Linked DNA regions of Homo sapiens: region 1 is linked to region 2. Evidence: promoter capture Hi-C in 16 types of primary human blood cells and fetal thymus (Javierre and others, 2016). All regions are on one chromosome and are shown on one strand. Each heading gives the region's core, a stretch centred on a gene start or on the middle of the fragment in contact. The rest is flanking DNA. Distances are from core to core; before and after follow the strand shown. Region 1 overlaps ZNF396 (zinc finger protein 396). Region 2 holds the start of ZSCAN30 (zinc finger and SCAN domain containing 30).

Evidence for each region. Contacts are between HindIII fragments. The CHiCAGO score rates a contact against its expected background, and 5 or more counts as called.
Region 1: a contact is called between a fragment that was not itself captured here and the fragment with the promoter of ZSCAN30 in region 2, in 2 of 17 cell types (total B cells and activated CD4 T cells). The highest score is 6.0, in total B cells.

The regions. Positions count from the first base shown.
Region 1 is chr18:35,368,779-35,372,400 of GRCh38, forward strand. It overlaps ZNF396 (zinc finger protein 396), which reads right to left. Exons shown (of 4, transcript NM_001322286.2): 4 at 1-882. The coding sequence ends at 437. Among named protein-coding and RNA genes, the nearest start is that of ZNF396, 6.7 kb to the right of the region's middle. The HindIII fragment of the contact is 1,941 bases long and covers 1,275-3,215 here.
Region 2 is chr18:35,288,743-35,292,326 of GRCh38, forward strand. It overlaps ZSCAN30 (zinc finger and SCAN domain containing 30), which reads right to left and starts at 1,487. Exons shown (of 4, transcript NM_001112734.4): 1 at 1,342-1,487. It also overlaps the pseudogene ZNF271P. RefSeq lists an enhancer at 1,604-1,763. The HindIII fragment of the contact is 2,453 bases long and covers 1-2,383 here.

The DNA of each region.
Region 1 (3,622 bases), core at 995-3,494, 81 kb after region 2:
TTTGGTCTTTAGAATTCTAGTGCTCAAGTTATGAAATGGAGGAGAATGTCTATTTTTACACTGAGTAACTCACACATTCCTTCTCAATGAGGGAAAAAACATACTTGTCTAAAAAGATATATACTAATTCATTATATGTGTTAATAATGAAAATAGTAGAACATGTCTGAGAATGCCTTTTCAAGGCCTGCATAGGGATGGAAATCTGAATTAAGCTTTGGAATTGCAAACGTCAGAATTGAGACTGCATTGATAAGCAGAAAAGCAAATAATGCTGACCTGAGATCTTCAACCTTCTCTCCTGTGGCTTTCATGAGTCTTGAAAGGAGACTGGTGCTTACTAAGACCACTGATTTGTACTAAGGAGCGTTTGCATCTGGTGTCTTCCCTTGTGCTGAAATAGCTCTGAGTAAATGCTTTGATTCCCTCATGATACTTATGGGACTTTTTTTCTAATGTGTCTTTTCCTATGTCTAAAAAGATTTGAGCTCTGACTAAAGGCTTTGCCACAGTCATGACACTTGTAGGGCTTCTCACCAGTATGGGTTCGTCGATGCTGAATCAGAATTGCGCTTCGGCTGAATGCCTTTGCACACTCGTCACATGCATAAGGTTTCTTTCCACTGTGGATTCTCTGATGTAAAATAAGGGCTGAGCTCTGACTAAAGATTTTGCCACATTCATCACATTTCTGTTGTTTTTTCCAAGAAGGGTTTCCTTGTCTCTTTTCAAACCTACCATCTTGTTCATAGGTTCCTCTATATGTGGAACTCTGGGAGCCATTCATATGAAGGATATTGGAAACATTGCAATGCAGTTCTATGCCTAAAGAAGTCTTTTGCCTTGAAGCAGATTTCACATTTGTAGTTTTGATGTCTTCATCTGAAATGGAAAAACAAATGTCACCAGGAAAGAGAAAGGATGATCCAAATGAAATATACATGATTATTGCTAGCATGTTTATAAAACAACACACAATGTGAAGGACGGAGAGTGTAAGACAAAATATTGAGAAGTTTATATAAGACATAGAGAAAGGTTTACATACTGAGGAGGCAGTCAACTAAACTGTAAAGTTGCAAAGTTCTATGGAAAAGACAGAATAGGGAATAAGGATAAAAAGATATGTCAGAGACTAAGGAAAGTCTGGAAGGAAAGAAAGGGCTTAGAAAGAAGAAATGATTGGAGACACAGAGAGCTAGAAGGAGAGGAATCCAATGTGCCAGTGGGAGTAACAAACAAGATTTAGTACTGGAGTATCAATAAATAAATAAAGCTTAATATTCATAAAGGAATCAGTAACTATGCAAAGAAATGAGCTGAAGAAAGCCAAGGGGCCAAAAAGGAATGTGGAAAATAAAGTAAGAAAATATAAGTTAGGCCAATAAAGGGAAGATTATAGACTAGGATAACTAGTACCTCAAAAGATCAAGGGTAGCAGAGTACCCACTGATGAAAAACCTCTACTCCTGTATGGATTTTATATTACTGGTTGAATCGCTGTTTGTTGTATTATTTTGTATTACATTTAACATCCATGAAAAACGTACATGGCTGCTTATGGGCTGCGGCCACTCAGGCGGCACACAAACCTGGCTTGATGCAGAGGGCCTTATGACTCAGGGTGCCTAAAGCTCCAGCAGAACTGCTAACTCAGATGTGAAAATGCCAGTGTAATGTGGTTGCATTACCTGAAGAAATCACTTCAGTTATCCTCATGGTGGCATTTTTTTTTTTTTTTTTTTTTTTTTTGAGACGGAGTCTCGCTCTGTCGCCCAGGCTGGAGTGCAGTGGCGGGATCTCGGCTCACTGCAAGCTCCGCCTCCCGGGTTCACGCCATTCTCCTGCCTCAGTCTCCCAAGTAGCTGGGACTACAGGCGCCCGCCACTACGCCCGGCTAATTTTTTGTATTTTTTAGTAGAGACGGGGTTTCACCGTTTTAGCCGGGATGGTCTCGATCTCCTGACCTCGTGATCCGCCCGCCTCGGCCTCCCAAAGTGCTGGGATTACAGGCGTGAGCCACCGCGCCCGGCCCATGGTGGCATTTTAACTGAAGCTGCTGAAAGACAGGAGCTTAAAATGAGTTTATAAAAGCAAAGTACAACAGTTTTGGACATGTCTGGGGAGATGACTTGGCTGGGGCTGACTGTGACTACTGGGGGTGCCTTTATCTGAAGTAATTATATAAATAAGATTAAAAGCAACCCAGAGAGGTACTGATGATAAGTGATTCCCTGGGCCCTCTCAAGGCCTAATGAAAAGGTTAGGGTGAGAAAGGTAGTCTGGGGAGAAGAATTAGTGATGCAATGTGATACTGAATAAGAAAACTGAGTTGTTGTTTTACTCTTTAGAATTTACTTAAAATGGATCTACCTGCTGTCTCTACAATCTCCTTAGAATCACCCAACATAAGCTCAAATCTTAACATAAGCCCTTCCCAATTCCTTCTTAATGACACACCCCATAGTTTCTGTGCCGTGTTCTCTTTCTTGCTGCAGCAAACTAAATAAACCTAACTTGAAAAAATATATAAAAATCAAATCAAATGGGTCTAAATAGTTATTACAAAAGGAATTTAAAATTATTTATTGTATTTATTCACAAATATGGTGTCTCAGTCCATTTTCTGTTGTTTAGAATAGAATACCTGAACTTGAGTAATTTATTTATAAAAAGAATTTATTTCTTATAGTTATGGAGGTTGAGAAGTCCAGGGTGGAGGGGTGCATCTGGTGAGAGCCTTCTTGCTGGTGGAGACCCTCTGAAGAGTCCTGAGGCAGTGGAGGGCATTTCATGGTGAGGGGGCTGAGCATGCTAATATGCTAACTCAGCCCTTTCTTCCTCTTCTTATAAAGTTACCAGTTCTCCTATGATCACCAATTAACCCATTAATCCATGAATGAGTTAATCCATTTATGAGGGCAGGGGTGATAATTCAATTACCTCTCAAAGGCCTCACTTCTCAATACTGCCACACTTGGGATTAAGTTTCAACACAAGTTTTGGAGGAGACAAATATTCAAACCATAGCATATGGCATACTCATTTATTATTACTAGTTTAAGTGGAAATCATTTTATAAATGGTAAGGATTCTGTCTCAAATTCATTTTTGATAGTTTATATTCCAAAGTGACCTCAATGATTAGTCATTACTATCAAAATCCTGGCATCAATTAGTACTTTACAGTACTGAGACCAAGATCATCTCCCAGAAGCTTTCATAAGACATGACTCAGTACCACAGAAATCATGTTGTGGCCTTAAGAAATGGTTCTATTATTCTATCAAGTGATTCTGGTTCTCTCTGCCTTGTACTGCAAGATCCTGGACCTGTTGCATTCTGTTTCAAATTTCTACGAATCTTAAAAAAAAATGTAGGAAAGGCCTCCATGAGGACATTCACAGGTAGGATGTGGTTCTTGCCACACCTGGCTTTGAGGTTGATCACTTCTGTAGTCACCACCACACCAAGCTGCTGAGGCTGGGATGGTCTCCCTCCCTTTCCTGACGGAAAATACTTTTTCGTGAAAAGACTTTCACTTTTCTAAGTATACCAAGACAATTTCTAGACTGGAGGTATTACGTGTCCCAGTATAAGCCTTCAGAGAGCCAGTACTTGC
Region 2 (3,584 bases), core at 237-2,736:
ATGCAAACTAATCTCTAGTAACAGCTGACCAGTGGAGGGGGCATTGGGAGAGAGGCTTACCAACGGGCAGGAGGAAACTTTTGGGGTTTAGATGTAATAAACATATTATTTTGATTGCAGTGATAGTTCCACAGCTGTATTCATTTAACAAGCCTTATCAAATTATATCCTTTAAATATTTGCTGTTTATGTCAGTTATACCTCAATAAAGCTGTTTTGTTTTGTTTTGTTTTGTTTTGTTTTGAGACAAAGTCTCGCTTTGTCACCCAGGCTGGAGTGCAGTGGCGCAATCTCGGCTCACTGCAACCTCCGCCTCCTGGGTTCATGGGTTCACGCGATTCTCCTGACTCGGCCTCCCAAGTAGCTGGGATTAAAGGCGCACACCACCATGCCCAGCTAATTTTTGTATTTGTAGTAGAGACAGGGTTTCACCTTGTTGGCCAGGCTGGTCTCCAACTCCTGATCTCAGGTGATCCACCTGCCTCAACCTCCCAAAGTTTTAGGATTACAGGCCTAAGCTGCGCCTGGCCAAAAAGAAAGCTGTTTTTTTAAAACTATCTGCACTCCCTACTTGGGAGGGTTGGACTCAAGTTCCCACATCTCTTTCCTCTTACGGTTATATTAAGGGCTTAGTCATACATCCCTAAATTTCATATATCCCAACAGGGACTTGGGCTGGGACAGGAAGCCCTCTTCCTCCACCTCAACTACCACTTAGCCACCCACCATTTTCTCAAACCTCTTCCTTTCCCCACCGGACAGCTTAAACCAAGTCACACGTCTCATTGGTCTCAACAGAAATGAGGTCCCAACTCCTCATTTCCCAAGATATTTCCATGAACACAGCAATATCCTTTCCTACCCTGATTACCCCGCACCCTCCATTTCGGGTCCTTCTCACCCTGATCAGTGAGAATTGTTCTAGCAAGCAAACCTTAAATAGACCTCGTACCCTTTCTAGATTGCAAAGTAGATAAAAATCCAACTTTCCGTTAATTCAGGGATTAATTACTGAGCATCACTTATTTCTTGGGCAGTGGTTCTCAAAATGTGGTCCCAGGACCAACAGCTTCAGGATCACCTGAGAACCTGGGCTGCCACCGCCCCCTCCCCCACTACTAAATCAGCAACTCCGGAGTTGTGGGGCAGAAGTCAGTATTTTAACAAGGCCTCCAGGTGATTCTGATGCGCGCTACTCTTCTGGGGGTGTGAAAAACCAGAGAGGACAGGAAGAAAGTTAGAATTAAAGCATACCTACGAATCAGATAAGCGATAGGGGGAGGGGTGGTTATTTAAAAAACGATAACTAATTAAGAACTTGTATGTAGTAAGAAAACCTACCCTGCCCCAGAGAGCTTTCCCGAAAGATAATGGATTCCGACATTCACCTCAAGAACCGGCAGACAGAGCAGCAAAGGATCTGTCGCTGGCCAAGCAGGTCCCTGGCTAAGGCACTGCTAGGGACAGCTCGCGGCGGTTCGGGGGTTAATTCTCGGCAGCCCTCCGTCACCCGGTGCCCCACCCCCGCCCTGCGCCTGCGCGGTGAAGCGCCATAGAGCTGAGCACTCCTCCCAGATTCCTAGAGCGGACAGGGCGATGGCAGGTTCGCCGGGTGTGAGGCTTCACAGCGGTCCGGTGACCAAGTCGAGGTAAGGGTGATGTCGGCTCGCGGATAGCAGAGGAGTTCCGGGTGATCTTGCCTAACGAGCAGGAAACTGTGCATGGTTTCTCGAGTCCTTGGAGAGTGAAGGCCCCCGGGGTCGCTCCCGGGCACGGAGAGACGATTGGTTCACGGCCTAGTGTTCGGTTTGTTCCCAGTCAGCCCTTGCTGGCCTTGGGTTCAACCGAATGAACGCCAGAAACTCTGTGGGGTGGGGGGAGTCACCAACCGTGGTGCATCCATACGAATCAGCCTACCGTACTGGGAAAGAGCCACCTGAATTTGTGAATGTTGTAAAAGCAAAAGGAAGAAAAATGATCAGTAGTGTCATTTTTGGATAGGAAGGGCAGCGAATAACATAGTGTTAACCACTAGAATTCACTGTAAAATTCCCCTCTCTGCGTTATCTTTCCAGTTATACCTTTTTTTGGTAGCATTAACCCCTAATTTTGTTTGAACATCTCTAGACTTGGAATGGGGAATGTGTGTCTTAAGTGGGTTAATCCCTGGCTCTTGGATGATGGGGAGGAAGCCTAATACATTCTGAGAGAAAAGCAACTGGAAGTCAAATGAGATTTTTTGTTTTCTCCTTCTTTTATATCTTGAGGATTTTTCTGGTGGTCTAGTCTCAGAGATTACATCTGTAGTCAGCACAATGATTCCCTTCCAAGCCCAGTGGTGCCCAGTTGCCTCCAGGTCCCAGACCTTTATGTGGACAAGAAAAGCTTACAGAGGAAATGGTAATTCTCCACTTGCACACTGAGGTGTCCAGTTGCAGCCCATGGAGATCCAGTTCAATTATGAATCTCAGGAACACCACCTTCTGTCAGGTGAGAGGCAGGGTATTATATCTTTCTTAGTGGCTTTGGCGGGGTGGGGAGGATGAGGGGGTGTCACTCTATGCTAGTGTCTTCAAATGATCCCCCTTAACTCTGTTAGGCAGTATTACCTCTTTAGTGTACCAAGCATAGTCACATGACTTTATTTCAAAATCTGGCGATCAAATTCTCATGCAGCTCTCTCCACTTTTTTAAGACCCCAAAGTCATTCATTTTTCCCTGTATAATGACCTCATTGCTAATCTGTCAGTTTTGGTCATTTTTCTTATCTACTGTAGGGGCATAGTTAAAAGTTCTGGAGTCTGACAACCTAGATTCAAACAGTAGTTTTGTCACTTAACTGGCTCCAGTAAGTTACTCATATATTTTACGATTCTGTTTCCTCACTTTTCAAGTGCATAGTACTTCATACCTTGAAGTTATTTTGAGATTTGTATCTATGTATTACTCCAGAATAAAGAACCCCAAAATTTAGTGACCTAAAACATCAGACTTCTTAAACCACATTATTTCTTATGATTCTGTAGGTCATCAACTTGAGCTGGGTTCACCTGGGCATTTTTTTTTCTCTTGGTCTTTTCTGGGGTCATTTTGCAGTCATCTCAAGGCTGACTCTACTGGGGCCAGGGTCTAAGATGGTTTCAATCACGTTGTCTCAATGTCAAACTGTTAGTGCCGGCTATGGCTTGAGTCCTCATGTCTTCAGCAGGTGACGCTGGACTTTTTCACAGGACAGCTTGTTTCCAGTCAGAGAAGGCAAGCTCTTTTCATACCTATGTTTGTGTTTCATCTGTTAATGTGTTTCATCTGTTAATGTCTCATTGATGAAAGCAGGTCATATGACCAGTTCTAAAGTCATTATAGAAGGAAACTACACAGGGATATGGGTACTGGGAGATAGGATTCACTGGGGTACACTAATACTATAACAGGCCAGGTGCAGTGGCTCACACCTGTAATCCCAACACTTTGGGAGGCCAAGGCAGGAGGAATGCTTGAAGCCAGGAGTTGAGGACCAGCCTGGGCAACAAAGTGAGACCCCATTTCTACAAAAATTTAAAAAATTAGCCAGGCATGGTGGTGTG